Regions from separate parts of the Homo sapiens genome. Here regions 2, 3, 4 and 5 are each linked to region 1. The links are contacts of gene promoters, found by promoter capture Hi-C in blood cells and fetal thymus (Javierre and others, 2016). All regions are on one chromosome and are shown on one strand. The core of a region is centred on a gene start or on the middle of the fragment in contact, and the rest is flanking DNA. Distances in the headings are between cores, read along the strand shown. Region 1 holds the start of RPP40 (ribonuclease P/MRP subunit p40). Region 2 overlaps SNRNP48 (small nuclear ribonucleoprotein U11/U12 subunit 48). Region 3 overlaps DSP (desmoplakin). Region 4 overlaps RIOK1 (RIO kinase 1). Region 5 holds the start of SSR1 (signal sequence receptor subunit 1).

Region 1 (2,912 bases), core at 291-2,790:
TTACAGGCATGCGCCACCACACCCTGTTAATTTTTGTATTTTTAGTAGAAAGCGTTTCACCATGTTGGCCAGGGTGGTCTTGAACTCCTGACCTCAGGCGATCTGCTCGCCTCGGCCTCCCAAATTGCTGGGACTACAGGCGTGAGCCACAGCACTCAGCCAGATTACCGATGTTTTTAGTGGCAGATGACTTTCCGGCCTTGTCTTAGTTTTAATTTTTTTTTTTGAGATGGGGTCTTACTATATTGTCCAGGGTGGTCGTGAACTTCTGAGTTCAAGTGATCCTCCCACCTCAGCCTCCCAAAGTGCTGGGACTACAGGCGTGAGCCACTGTGCTCGGCCAGATTACTGATGTTTATAATGGCAGATGACTTTCCAGCCTTGTCTTAGTTTTATTTTTATTTTTGGAGATGGGGTCTCACTATATTGCCCAGGCTGGTCTTGAACTCCTAAGCTCAAGTGATCCTCCCACCTCAGCCTCCCAAAGTGCTGGGATTACAGGCATGACCCACTGTGACTGGCTTAGTTTTAAATTCTTAATTATTTACCTTGTAAACTACTTAATTCCATTTCTTCCACATCTCATAGAAAAACTGATGTTCCAGGAAGATGTATCACCAATATTCTGCTGTTTTGTATCCTGCCAGTGCAGAATTGGGGCTGTGCCTCTCTAGTTTGAGAAGCATGTAGTAACATACTTGATTTTGCCCTGATCAGTAACGTACCGCATGCTGGGAGCCGCAGTCTCTTAACCGCTCCAAGCCCGTGACAGAAAAACGAAATGGAAAAATGACTTAGGAGAATTATCACTATTAACCCCCAGAAACAACACATTATTAAAAGCGGTTCTGAAGGGCTATTTAAAAGGGAACTCAATAGTAGTTTCAAAGGAGTCCTATTGTAAGGCAAAAATTGTGCTTTACCTTCCCGCACAACCTTCCCTAATGTTTTGGGAAGGACTGATACAAACTTTTAGTCCTGTTGGCCTGTGTTAATAATGGCCAAGAGGTCCCCAATGGGTAACAGAGTCCTGTGAACCAAACAGTGTGAGAAGTCAGAAAGCAGCTGGGTGTGGCCCCCAAAGCAGCTTAGGGGGTTACTTAACTGTGCGGCTACATTTCTTGACCATATACTAAAGGAACTGGGCCTTTCCATGCGATGTTTTCCTTTTATAACGGTGGCAGGAAGCGGTCCCTCTGAGGGGCCTGACCGAGGTATGCGCCGGCGCCAGGCTGGGGTCCAAGGGGCGCTCCGAGGCGGGGCCCACAGAGAGGGTTTAGGGCAATTCCAAGGGATGGCGGGGACGGAGGAAAAGTGGCGTTGAAAAGGCAAGAGCCAGGTTCCCAGCCACTGGGACAGTGAATTTACAGCTTCAGACATCCACCAAAGAGCGGCTGCGTGGGCTCCTAAGAAGTCTAAGAACTGCTCAGAAATCCAGCGCCGCCATCCCCACTCCACCGCCGCCAGGGGCGCACAGCAGCGGGTATGCGGCCGGAGGGAAGGGGCGGGGCGGGAGGAAGGGGCGGGGCGTGCCCCGCCAGCGGAGGCCGGGAGGACCAGGAACCCAGGAGAGCATGGCCACGCTGCGCCGGCTTCGGGAGGCGCCGCGGCACTTACTGGTTTGCGAGAAATCCAACTTCGGCAACCACAAGTCGCGCCACCGGCATCTTGTGCAGACGCACTACTATAACTACAGGGTGAGTCCGGCTGTCCTCGGCTTTTCGGGCCGTGCTCAGTCCCCGCGTGCGAGAGAGGTTTGGGGAGAGTGCTAGGCTTCGCGGGGCGGGGCCGCCGGCGGTACGCGGAGGGGCGGGGCCCTCGCCCGGCTTGCTGGGAGTTGTAGTCTCTTAACTGCTCTAAGCCAGTGGCTTGCAGGGCTACAGGACTACAACTCCCAGGATGCGCCGGGCGTGGGGGCGGTACCCAGTCTGGAGGGAGCTGTTGTCAGGGGCGTTCTGGCTGCTCACTCGTGTCAACCCGCCGAACTGGGAGTGAGTCCAGGGAGGGATTCGAGGTTCAGGGCCGGGACCAGGGAGTTAGGCTGTGGGGCAGCCACGTGCACCTCGCTTTTTCCCCAAATCAGGGCGGGTCTCGCGCCTCCTCCCCACCACTGCCTCCTCCCCAGCTTGAATCCCTCTCCCACCTGCGTACCTGTGGATCTCACCAGAGCATCCTGCCTAGGCTCGGCCCAGGAAGCGACTGATTTTCCTTTTTTTTTTTTTTTTTTTTTTAGACGGAGTTTCGCTCTGTCGCCCAGGCTGGAGTGCAGTGGCGCGATCTCGGCTCACTGCAGGCTCCGCCTCCCGGGTTCACGCCATTCTCCTGCCTCAGCCTCCCGTGTAGCTGGGTCTACAGGCGCGCGCCACCACGCCCGGCTAATTTTTGTATTTTTAGTAGAGACGAGGTTTCACCGTGTTAGCCAGGATGGTCTCGATCTCCTGACCTCGTGATCCGCCCGTCTCGGCCTCCCAAAGTGCTGGGATTACAGGCGTGAGCCACCGCGCCCGGCCGAAGCGACTGATTTTCTAAATTGGTTGTTGGAACTAATTTGATATCTGAGAGACTTCAAGAAACTAACCTTATCATGGGGGATTAAACATTTTACACTTTAAATGGATCAGCTTAATAACTCAGGTTTGACTGAGCAGTGTTTCAGAGATGTTAAGTGGTGACCTGATCAGTCAGAACAGGCTGGTGTTTGAGCCTTGGGACAGTGATGACTTTTACAATGTGGCAACATTTGAAGCCTGCCCTGTTTTTAACACCTATTTTGGATGTCAAGCTCATCACAGCAGTCAGGGATGTATACTTTAACTCGCCTGTTGCATTTTTCTGTCTCGAAAATGAAAACATACAGGAGCACCATTGCTTGCACATAGATTCTTAGTAATTGGATGTCCATAAATTAATTC
Region 2 (2,912 bases), core at 125-2,624, 2.6 Mb before region 1:
CTGCTTCAGCCCCACAAGTGGCTAGGACCACAGGTATGCACCACCACACCCGGCTAATCTTTGTATTCTTTGTAGAGACGAGGTTTTGCCAGGTTGCCCGGGCTGGCCTTGAGCTCCTGAGCTCAAGTGATCACCTGCCTCAGCCTCCCACAGTGTAGGGATTATAGGCATGAGCCACCATGCCAGACCGCCACGGAAGAGTTCTATGAGGTGACTATTCACTCTAGCAGTATACAAGGGAATGGAATCATATGCAGTAAATTTAGAGACAAGTAGAAAAATTAGGAAAATGACCATCATTTCATTAGGAACTGACCAGATGATAAGGAGTGGAAGGAAGTATCTAAAATGACTCCTTGATTTCTGGCTTAGGTTAATAGATGAGAGTCATCTCTTTAACCAGGACAGTAATGCTGGGGAAAGAGGAGCAGATTGAGAAAAAGGTAAGTTTAGTTCTAGACCTGATGAACTTGAGATCCAGGTACATGCCTTGTAAGCAGCTGGACTACAGAAATAGACCTCAAATGATTTACATTTACTAATTCGGTATTAATTCACATCTCTCAAGCTATCAAAATTTTACTAACAAAGGCAAAATTGACTGTCAAAATTTAGATGTTCTCTCTGACCCTACATACCCTTATTTGAGGAATTAGCAGGAAAAAGAAAGAAAGAATAAGAGAAAGAGGAAGGAAGGAATGAGCAGAAGAAAGGGATCTGGGAAAACCGTGTTTAACAGTTAATGTCCTGCCTAGACAATACTTTCATATGTCCTGTTTAGGAAGCAAGCAAGTAAGAGATAAAAAAGGGAAAAAAACATCCAATCACGCATGTAGAGATCTATGTCACTAGAGTGGTGGTTATTTGAACTGAACTATAATGAATGTTAAGAATCATCGTCAATTGTTTACTCTCCTTACTTTAGCTTATTCTTAAAATCTATTTTCTCAGCATGGTCTACAACAGAAGAACCTGTTCTATTTTTAAAAAGTACAGAATTCAACGTTGGATGATGCAGGGTTAGACCCACCTCTCTTTCCTTCTTCTCGACTCACAGTTTTTATCCTTATCTTTGTTTCTTTTTCTTTTATGTGGGCTTCTACTCCTATCCCTTCTATGTCGTGAACACTCAGCATCCAAATAGCTTCCACCAGACTGCCGTGAATCTACTGAAGCTGATCGCCTTTCTTCATTCCTAAAACACAGAAAAGAATGTTAATCAGTTTGTGTTACCACTGGTCTCCAGTATACGTACACAGACACACCAGTCTAAAGTGTAATATTCTATATCAAACCAATGGTAGATATGGTCTAAATATGCACAATCTTATAACCCATATAAAAGGACAAATAAACACAGCTCTTAACCCATTTATGCCTGAGGTTGCAATTTTTTTAATTTTTGCAATGAGACCTTGGCGATGACCTTGAGCAGTAGGACATAAATAACTCCCACATGCTTGGTGTTCCCATAATGGAATACTAGGCATAAATGTTAGTATGTTTTGCTATTTGAATATTTCACTAATATGGCTATCCCCTGAAAACTGTCAAAGGGTAATGTCAGAACAACTCTGGTACAATAACCCTGGGCACTGACAACGAAAAACAAAAAGCATTTTCACGAGTTTACTGTGTGCTATCAAGGGTTTTGGAAATGCTAAAATTTAACAATTATAAGTTAATTGTTATCTGTTATCAAAGAGAGAGTATTTTCACCAATAAAGATAATGACGTACTTTTCGGCATCATCCTCTGCCTTCTCTTGCTCTTCTTGCCAATGATTGCTGAGTTCTTCCATGTGCACATTTATCACATCTCGAATCACCTTGGGAGAGGTAAGCACCGAACTTCAGGTAAGAAAACTGCTCAAAAAATTAAGACTGTAACGCTAGAAAAATCAGTGCTAACAATCAAATATTTACTAAGTGCTATGACATAATTGACTGTGGGACTTGTGCAGTTTAGAGAACACAGAAAAGGCAATGGTCAAACTGGAATATGAATAGTAGATAAAAGTTTTACAGCAATATTAAATTTGAAGTTGCTATAACTGTACTACCTTTATGTGAGAAAATATCTCTGTTCTTAGGAAATACATACTGGGGATAAAGGGTTATGAGGTATGTAATTTAACCCTTAAAGAATTCAGGGGAAAAAAATATGTACAGATCGAGATCGAGAGAGTGAAAAATGTGCAGAGAGAGAGAGAGAGAGTGCCAATGAGAAGCTATGTGGCAAAATGCTAACAATGGGTGATCTGGGTAAAGACAATATGGGAGTTCTTGGTACTATTTTTAGTTTTGCAATTTATCTCTCTATTAGAGCTTATTTACAAATGATTTTTTTAAAACCTTATAATTAAGTCATCTTGACTTAATCATATGACTTAATAAGACAAAATATGAAACATACAGTCACTTCACAGATACTTTCTGAATGACTCTATAAAGAAACTTTCAAATAGGTAAAAACCACTTGAAAGTTTTTCCTTTCCTATTTACCCATGCCACCAAGCACAGGGTTAGTCACTGCAGAGGCAAAGACAAAACTAAAATAGGAGTTTACACTTCCCTCATGATTAAATAGAAAATGTTTTCAGAAAAAAGGTATAGGGGACACGGGGCAATCTCAGAAACACTATTCATTCAGGCCTGACTGCATTTCTCCCCACCTTAAAGAAACTTTCAATGGCTCTCAAAGTAAAATCGAACAATATCCAAACTCCTTAATGAAGCCTTCAGAGCCCTCCAGGATTTTCCTACATAAGATAGAACTTAGCCTCATCTCTCAACAGAGAAGCCCTAAGCTCTAGCCACCCTGGGTTACTAATGAGTCTCTGAAAAACTCCTATACTTCTATCTGCTTTTCAGAATGCTAGTTCTTCCACCCGGAAAATCCTTATCCACCAC
Region 3 (2,912 bases), core at 151-2,650, 2.6 Mb before region 1:
TTTTGGTGAACAATTATTTCTAAAGGCAAATAGCACGGTTCTCACTTAAAAAAATAGTCATAAGACTATAAATAGGCAGCACCATAAAATACAGAAGTGGCTAGAAGCTGGTAAGAGAGGAGTATGAAGTTAATGTATTCATACTCTGCCTACAGTATCTTTTTTTTTTTTTTTTTGAGACGGAGTCTGGCTCTGCCACCCAGGCTGGAGTGCAGTGGCGCAATCTCAGCTCACTGCAACCTCCATCTCCCGGGTTCAAGCAATTCTTCTGCCACAGCCTCCCGAGTAGCTGGGACTACAGGCACATGCCACCACACCCTGCTAATTTTTCTATTTTTAATAGAGATGGGGTTTCACCATATTGGCCAGGCTGGTCTCGAACTCCTGACCTTGTGATCTGCTCGCCTCAGCCTCCCAAAGTGCTGGGATTACAGACGTGAGCCACCGCGCCCAGCCCGGTATCCTTACTTTTTATTTGCATTTCCATAGTTAGCTGGTTGGTCTGGAAAAATGTGAGACTATTTCTGATGTGACATGACTCCTGATAAAAAGTTCTAGTGTATATTTCCCTGTTTGTATATGTGAACCAAATTAAAACTTAGCCCACGTCAAACATATCCTCTCTTCAGGATACAGCCCCATGTCATCTCAGAGCTTCATGACAACATTGGCACAAGCCTGGAGGGAGTAGGAAAGATTTGTCAATTGACTGTACTCTCTAGTTACTGTTTCAGCCCGAGGAACTGCTCTACACTGATGCTGCTGATCTGTTTTGATATCACTTTCCTGGAGTGGTCTCCAGACTCCTGTTCTAGGCTAGGCCTCTGTTATGGATTGGATTGAGTCCCTCAAAAATGCCTATGTTGAAGTACCAACCCACAATGTGACTGTATAAGGAGATAGAGCCCTAAGAGGTAATTAAAGTTAAATGAGGTCATAAAGGAGGGGTGGGTACTCTAATCAGATAAGACTGATAGCCACCCATGAGCCAGGTTTCACTAGAAACCAGCCCTGCCTGCATCTTGAGCTTGTACTTTTAGCTTCCAGAACTGTGAGAAAATACACTTCCGTTTAAGCCGCTCACAGTCTGTGGCATCTTGTTATGGCAGGGTGAGGTGACTAATATAGTCTCCCAGCTCTAGCATAAGGAATTTCCTTCATTTTTCCCAATACAGCATTTACCACATTTTCTTCTTCCTTTTGGATTATGAGGGCTCTTTTTCACCATGTATTTCTAGCACAGACTCCATGGCTTCTGGCACAATGCATGGCACGCGAACTCAGTATTTAATGCATAAAATTAATTTCAACTCCTCCAAATTAGGAGAGGGAGTAAGGAAGAAGAGGTGAAATAAGGAAGAAAAGAGTGCTGTGGAGGAAAAATAGCCCATGCAATGAGAATGGAGGTGACTTTCACCCTAAGTACCAAAAGCCCCCAATAATTAATCTAATCTTGATTTTTGTTCTATACAATTAGCATGTTTTCCTATTTTCTATCTGTACTATAAAATTTGTATTAATATATACTGCTGACATTTGAAAGTTGTCCCACTGATTGCTTTATCTGTTTCTGTCCCCACCCATATTGCCAATGCTTTGTTGTCGGGGGCTTGTAAATTCTACTCAGTCTTCATAGTACCTAACCCAATACTAGACATGGTGGGTATTCAGTGAAGTCATGTTAATCTAATGACAAATGTGTGAATTTCAGTAGTTTCTCTTTGATCCAAAGGAATAGGCTTATACTTCCTTGTCCTTCAACAGAGAGCCAAGAACTCTTCAGAAATCATTTTCATGGGTTCCAGGACAATTCTTTCCTCTTACGGGACAAAGTGAAACACTATCTATTTTGAGGATACCCAAAAAGCATCTTAGCAACTTCATGTTTTTTCAATGCTATGATGATGACTTTTGCCAATGCTACTTGGTACTCAATGTCCAGAATAAACTAGAACAGGTTATTGACCTCCAGGCTGGCCTCTTTACACAGGCCTTCTTTCCAAGGACTCCATCGGGTACATGACAGGCATCTGAGAAGTACCGAAAGGACTAACTTCAAAAGACCACCTTCTAGTAAGAATTCAGAACCAAATAGTTTTTTAATGGTATTTCTTCACAGGTATTTAGTAAACAAATATTTTTAGACCTATGATAAAAATATGCTAAATGTTTATACATGCTTATAAACATATTAAATTAAAACACAAACACTTCAAAAGTCTAAAAGTTTATTGCCAGAATAGCAAACTTCATAAAGACACCTTAAAGTACATCGAATATGACAAGCAAAATAAACAGAAAACTTTGACCAAAGAAAAGATTGCCGCTGTCATGCACAGTCAAATTAATACCAAACCAAACAAGTACATCGAAGAGTATATGGGTTATACAATCCACACTCTGAAACTAAAGGAGACTCATTCCAAAATGCTTGGTTTTGGGTTGGGGGTTTGAGAGGGGGGCTGGTGCTGGGAGGGTAATTTTCTCCTAATACAGAATATGGAAATATTTAGATGAGAAGCAGAATGACTAAAATATCAGTGATCCATTTAATTTTTATCTCCAAGAATAGAAAACTGTATTATAGGCTTCCAAAATTAAAGAATTGATCAAAAATCGAAACACAGAAGAGAAGAAACAAATCCTAAGTTCGATTTGTGCTATTGTTACAACTGATTAGCACTTCAGACGCACTGCATCCAAGTGTACTGCTTATTTAAGATGAGCTAAGAAGATAAAAAGCCAGAACAGCCTTTACTATTTGATTTCAATCATGGCTATATTTTCTGTAAGCATAGAATGTCCTATCACTCTACTGCAAGCACCGGGATTTTCTTTTCTATTATTTAATAAAGTGGAAATTCATATAAATGAAGTCAAGGTATAGCAACCACTCCCAACTGACTACTAGT
Region 4 (2,912 bases), core at 159-2,658, 2.4 Mb before region 1:
CATGAAGAAAATCTTTTAGTTATTCAATTTCAGAATCACAAAACAGCCTTTTAAAAAAGTAGACATAAGCAGACTACATAAAGATGTGCAGGATCCTTTATAAAATACCTGTGGGTTGCTTCCTCCATTCCAGACATAACCCTTGGCGAGTTTTCCAACTCCTTCATCCCAGTCCCAGTCATCATCATCATCGTCATAACCCTCCTCCTCCTCATCTTCTATTTCACCTTCACCATTCTCATTCACATTGTCTTGAAGGTCTTCAAACAGAATGTCATCCTTCTCTTTGACTGTCTTCAAGTCTCTGTTTTCACTAGAAATAACAATGTTTTATTATTTCATAACAATATTTCCACATACCCTAACTGATCTCACATATTTATGATGTAAGATATTAAAATATTGATAAATCTAAAAGATTATATATTTATATAAAATACACCTTCCGATAAGCTCCATCTCCTTAAAACCATGTTCTCCTGTTTTCCAGTTCTGTTGCAGTTGTTTGCTCATTCTCCATGCCCAAAGCCTACTATTCAAGAAGCACATCAAGTTAAATCTGCTTCTGCCTTGTTAAAGTTAGAAATTATATTGTTATCTTCTCTGCTGAATAAACAACTCAGACCAGTATACCAGACTTGACTCTAGGAAAATCATTCGCAGAGCTGCTTTAGAAAATCTCTAGGAAAATCTTTCTGTAAAACAAGAAAAAAGAAAGGGGGAAAAAAGGCTGGTGCAGCGGTTCACACCTTTGATCCCAGCTACTCGGGAGGCTGAGGCCATAGGATTGCTTGAGCCCAGGAGTTCACGGCTGCAGTGAGTCATGATCGTGCCACTGTACTCCAGCTTGGGCAACCCTGTCTCTAAAAAAAATTGTAATTAAAAAAAAAAAAAAGCTTTCTGACAAAAAATTTGGGAATAAGTCTAAGGCAGTCTTACTTTGAACTCGATAACACTTTGCAATAAAAGAAGTTACATCAAGATTTGTGTTCCACAAAGAAATCCAAATCATCCCTGTTCATGATGGGAAGAAATGGTGAATACAGGGACCAGGCACTACAAATGAGAGAAGTAGGCTGCACAATAGAAGTGGGGACTGGCAAACTGGGAGAAGAGGTCCAAGGTAAAGGGAGCACAACCAGTAAGGGCTTTTTTTTTTTTTTTTTTTGCCATATTAGAATTCAGGCCTAGTGTTACCAGATCTTAATTTTTCAAGTGAAGCTGTAAGTCTGGATTTCTGTGTAAAATCTATCCCTTCACTGGCATAGTCAATTTTTACAAATAATTGTGCATACCAAACAAAACATGTCTGCAGGCCAAATTCAACAGAGGACTCAGTTTTTACCTCTCATGTACAGAAAAGGACAGAAACCATAAAAAAGCAGCTGATAATATGAGATACCAGCTGAAAAACAGACGAGTTTAAGTAAATTCAGATTATCAATCCCAATTTATTAATTAGCCATGGCTCTGAGGGTTCCCCGTGGACATGTGGAGGAAGAAAACAGACAATCATCAAACACTTGCTACTTACCAGGACTTCATACATATGCTCCACAGATTGATATATAATTGCCTAGAGTGGCATGTTAAAGTTGTAACTTTGCCAGATAATTCTTCGTTGTGGGGGACTGTCTTCTGCACTGTAGGATTTTTAGCAGCATATCTCTGGCCTCTACTTACCAGATGCCACTAATGTACCACCACCCCCAGCTGTGACATACAAAAACGTCTCCAGAAATTGCCAAAAGTCCCCTGGGTAGAAGTCGGGATGGCAACATCTTCCCCAATGGAAAATCACTGGTGTATCCTTACAATACCCTGGGGTGGATGGTAAATTAGTGCCCTCTCATTACCATTAACTACCCACTAGCTATGCTGGCTGTGTTTCTTCTGCTGCTTTTCTTCTCTAAAGCTTTTTGTACACTTCTCCGTAACCATAAAACTGGAATGCCCTTCCTCTTTCTCTGGCTAACCCCTACTCATCCATCAAGTATCAGCTCACTATCACTTGCTCAAGGAAGTCTTCCCTATTTTTCCCCCACTTCTCCTTTGTACTACTTACCCAATTCGAATACAAATAGTCTAATTATTTAATAATATCGGTTTCCCCTGCTAGGGTGCAAGCTCTGTGTCATTCAGGATGGTATTTACCAATGCCTCCCTACCACCTAAGACTAGATCTGACTCACAGAAAGCATTCAACATACATATATTTATTGAAAACATCCCCAATAATTAACAAAATCCGCATGTGATGAATCCTTACTGTAAACATAAAGTACAAGCTGTTTTCTTGGAATTCCAAAATAACTCCAATATGTTTCATTTTGCTTTTAGGCAGGAGTTATCCTTCATCCCTCTTTCCCCAGACTCCACGTCCAGTCTACCACCAAACGCTGCCACTTCTACCTCCAAGACATATCTTTAGGATCTGGGCTCTAGTCCCCACCATCTTTGAATCTGATTACCTTATTATTTTTGAACTGGTCTCTCTGTTCCACTCCCACCCTCCATGAACATCATCTACCTAGAAAGAATGATTCCTTTAAATCACCAAGCAAATAATGTCATTCTTCTGCTAAAATCCCTCCTATGGCTTTCCATAAGACCCACATTAATATCTGAACTTTTCACCATCACTTGTAAAGGTCTCCATGATCTGGCCCCCCTTCTTACTTCTCTATCACCCTACCAATCTTCTCAACTACCTCCACTGTGCTCTAGGCACTCTGGCCTCGGGGCCTTTGCTCTTGCTGTCCCTTCTGTGTGAAATGCTGTTCCCTCTGCTCTTGCCAGGATTAGCTCCTTGTCATTCAAATCTGGACTTAACCTTTCCCTACCCATTCAGTCACCACTTGGTATATCAAACGATTTGCATAGTCTACATCATTATTTGGTTTTTAAATGGT
Region 5 (2,912 bases), core at 157-2,656, 2.3 Mb before region 1:
TGTGACTTTAGCAGACTGTAGGTAGTGGTGGCAGTGGGTCCAAGCTGCATTTACAGCCCCCAGGACAAGGAGACCTGAAGCGGAAACAATGCAGGAGTAGAACAGCAAATGTCCTAGGTCAGTAGTGTATGGAATCTGGAACCAGATAGCCTTGTTCAAATCTTGCATCTGCCGTTTGCTAGCGTTTTGAAGCTTTGAGTAAATTACTAACCTCTCTGGGTCTGTTTTCTCCTCAGTAAATAATATCCAGCTCATAGAGAGGTTTAGAAAATTAAATGAAAAAGCACAGCTCTAAGGAGGTGATTGACAATAGTAAGCATATGATTTATTTCCTCATCTTTATGACATCTCACTCTGGTCCAGACCAAGATTACTTAATATTCAGATTAATTTCATGAACTGCTATATTACTCCAGCAACTCAAATCCAAAATAGATGAAAAGGAAACTAAAGAAAACTGGACAGCCATTGCTGCACCTATTGTATAGTTACAAATGCTGACTACATACCAAAACACTGTTTAGGTGACTTATAATTCTGGAATGTCACATACGAATTTAAGAATTGCTGGCCAGGCGCAGTGGCTCACACCTGTAATCCCAGCACTTTGAGAGACCCAGGCGGGTGGATCACCTGAGGTCAGGAGTTTGAGATTAGTCTGGCCAACATGGTGAAACCCCCGTCTCCAGTAAAAATACAAAAATTAGCCGGGCGTAGTGGTGCGCGCCTGTAGTCCCAGCTGCTTAGGAGGCTGAGGCGGGAGAATCGCTTGAACCCGGGAGGCGGAGGTTGCGGTGAACAGAGATGGTGCCACTGAACTCTGGCCTGGGCGACAGAGCAAGACTTCGTCTCAAAAATAATAATTTAAGAATTGTCATTACTTAACCATGGGAGAGGGTGTGGGCAGACAGGGGACAAAGATTTTCCACTGTGTATTTTCATGGTTTTTCCTTTGAACAATGTCCTCTCTTCCAACAAAATTTTTTGCTTTTAAGTGCCACATAAAGGCAGCTCATGTTCCTTACATCGCCGTTATCAAGAGGATCGTCATTCAAATAAAGTAACCACTGACAATGCTAATTAATTGGAAGTAAAGAACTGGGCGGAAAGAACGGCTAACCGCAAGCTGCCGGGTCGCAACTGCGGCGGAAGGCGGACTCTCGCGGGAGCCACAAAGAGGCAGCAGCCGGCCACGTGACTTCCCGGTGGCCTGCTCTCCCCACCTCTCCGCGCTGAGCAGCCACGTCGGCGGCGGTCCCTGGTCCAGGGAGGGGCGTGGCAAAGGCCCGTGCGCGGTACGTGTCCCGCCCCTCGCTGCCCGGAGCCCGGATGAAGAGTAACGCCATTACCGCCGGAGCCGCCGAGAGCCTTAGCCGACGGAAACTGGACACTGGACCGGCAGCGCCATGAGACTCCTCCCCCGCTTGCTGCTGCTTCTCTTACTCGTGTTCCCTGCCACTGTCTTGTTCCGAGGCGGCCCCAGAGGTGAGGCTGGGGGAGTGTGCGGAGGGGATGGCCAGGAAGGAGATGCCAGTGATGGCAAGTTTGAAGTTGGAGGCGGTGGCCGCTCCGGGTCCTGGGGTCCGCGTCCACCCCGCTGGCCTCTCTCCGCCCTCTCCCCAAGCCTAGGCTCGTAGCAGCAGGGGTCCCCGCGGGCGCTGGAGACCCCGCTGCGGCCTGCCCCTTGCACGCGGAGCGCGGGGCCGTGCCCGGGCGACCTTGCTTCGTGGCCGGCCGAGGGCTGGGCTTGCTCCTCTTGCCCTGGACCCTCGCCTGCAGGAGCGGCCAGAACTGGAGGGTCCTCGGCTGCAGGAGGAGGCGCTGGACACGGCTGCGCTCCGAGCGCGCCGCAGCCGGGCTGTTTCTTTTGGCCACCTCCGGCTCCGCTCCACCCCCAGCCCCTCGCGCTCAGGGCTGACGTGTCTTTAGCTTCCACGCCGGGAGTCCGTCTTCATTCATTTGCCAAAACCCTTGTTTTCTACACATCTAAGCCATCAGAGTGTCTTGTTCAATGGTCATCTGCCTTGTTCACGCCCTGCTTGACCCGTATGTGTTACTAGGAGGCTTGATTTCAGAAAAACTACCCCATCGTCACCCCCGTTATCCGCCCCTGCTGCCAAGCAGACTGAAGAATCCCTGTGGGATGTCTCCCTTCTGCCTTCTTCCTCTTCTTGTCTTTCCATGGAACAATTTTTTGTTTGTGGAAACATCGTATTGTGCTGAAAAAATGTGGCCTACTTCGAGTGTTTTTAATACATAGATTTATTCTTTCAACAATTAACCCAGCAATTAAGTGTGAAAATAACTTAGCAGAATATAAAAATATGGCAACTTGACTTCCTGCACAGGTTTTGTCGTGAACTTCGACTTTCTAATTTGTAAAGTGAAATAATTAGTCTGACTAAGCATCCCTTTCATTCTGTAAGTTTAAGCAAGCTGTGTGTCTTAACGGTAGTGACAGGTATTCACGAGTTGTTTTGCGATGAAAAGTGAAGTGACTGGCTTCTGTTTAATGGCTAGAAAACCAAGTGGGAGAATTAAACAACTGTTAATGAGTTAATCTGCAGGTTTAACAAGATTTTTTACTTTAGGAGTCGTTTGCTGGTACTCTTTAAGCTTTTTAAAAGAAAACTTGACAAATGTAGTTTTAGTTTTAGAACTATTTATAACTATTTTCAAGTTATAAAAACTTTCAAGAAGCATGAATTCATTATCTAAACTGAATTAATATCTTGTAAACATTTTTTGTGAGAAACGGTTTTTGTGTTTGGTTTTTCCAGTTGAATGAAGACTGTTAGACTTCATGGGGACAAAATTGTTATTGGTTAACATTAAAATAATAAAATTGTTTAATATTTATGAAAGGCCTTTATATTCCAAAGTGCTCAAATTTAACCACGACTTTAAATTAC

What was found. Contacts are between HindIII fragments. The CHiCAGO score rates a contact against its expected background, and 5 or more counts as called.
Region 2: a fragment that was not itself captured here is called in contact with the fragment with the promoter of RPP40 in region 1 in 1 of 17 cell types (activated CD4 T cells); the score reaches 5.0 in activated CD4 T cells.
Region 3: a fragment that was not itself captured here is called in contact with the fragment with the promoter of RPP40 in region 1 in 3 of 17 cell types (non-activated CD4 T cells, naive CD4 T cells and activated CD4 T cells); the score reaches 8.3 in non-activated CD4 T cells.
Region 4: a contact is called between a fragment that was not itself captured here and the fragment with the promoter of RPP40 in region 1, in 2 of 17 cell types (non-activated CD4 T cells and total CD8 T cells). The highest score is 9.5, in non-activated CD4 T cells.
Region 5: a fragment that was not itself captured here is called in contact with the fragment with the promoter of RPP40 in region 1 in 4 of 17 cell types (non-activated CD4 T cells, neutrophils, total CD8 T cells and 1 more); the score reaches 8.9 in non-activated CD4 T cells.

The regions. Positions count from the first base shown.
Region 1 is chr6:5,002,665-5,005,576 of GRCh38, reverse strand. It overlaps RPP40 (ribonuclease P/MRP subunit p40), which reads left to right and starts at 1,540. Exons shown (of 8, transcript NM_006638.4): 1 at 1,540-1,697. The coding sequence starts at 1,575. LYRM4-AS1 (LYRM4 antisense RNA 1) reads right to left here and starts at 1,761. Exons shown (of 4, transcript NR_126015.1): 1 at 1,618-1,761. RefSeq lists silencers at 1,430-1,559, 1,690-1,939. The HindIII fragment of the contact is 5,117 bases long and covers 1-2,912 here.
Region 2 is chr6:7,604,314-7,607,225 of GRCh38, reverse strand. SNRNP48 (small nuclear ribonucleoprotein U11/U12 subunit 48) reads right to left here. Exons shown (of 9, transcript NM_152551.4): 7 at 1,740-1,828; 8 at 1,031-1,195. Among named protein-coding and RNA genes, the nearest start is that of SNRNP48, 16 kb to the right of the region's middle. The HindIII fragment of the contact is 3,945 bases long and covers 1-2,912 here.
Region 3 is chr6:7,585,874-7,588,785 of GRCh38, reverse strand. DSP (desmoplakin) reads right to left here. Exons shown (of 24, transcript NM_004415.4): 24 at 2,072-2,912. The coding sequence ends at 2,908. Among named protein-coding and RNA genes, the nearest start is that of SNRNP48, 2.9 kb to the left of the region's middle. The HindIII fragment of the contact is 3,159 bases long and covers 1-2,912 here.
Region 4 is chr6:7,390,500-7,393,411 of GRCh38, reverse strand. It overlaps RIOK1 (RIO kinase 1), which reads right to left. Exons shown (of 17, transcript NM_031480.3): 2 at 109-313. Among named protein-coding and RNA genes, the nearest start is that of RIOK1, 2.1 kb to the right of the region's middle. The HindIII fragment of the contact is 1,019 bases long and covers 899-1,917 here.
Region 5 is chr6:7,311,615-7,314,526 of GRCh38, reverse strand. SSR1 (signal sequence receptor subunit 1) reads left to right here and starts at 1,328. Exons shown (of 8, transcript NM_003144.5): 1 at 1,328-1,485. The coding sequence starts at 1,407. RefSeq lists enhancers at 953-1,012, 1,023-1,092, 429-1,295, 1,296-2,164 and silencers at 1,583-1,692, 1,823-1,872. The HindIII fragment of the contact is 2,424 bases long and covers 195-2,618 here.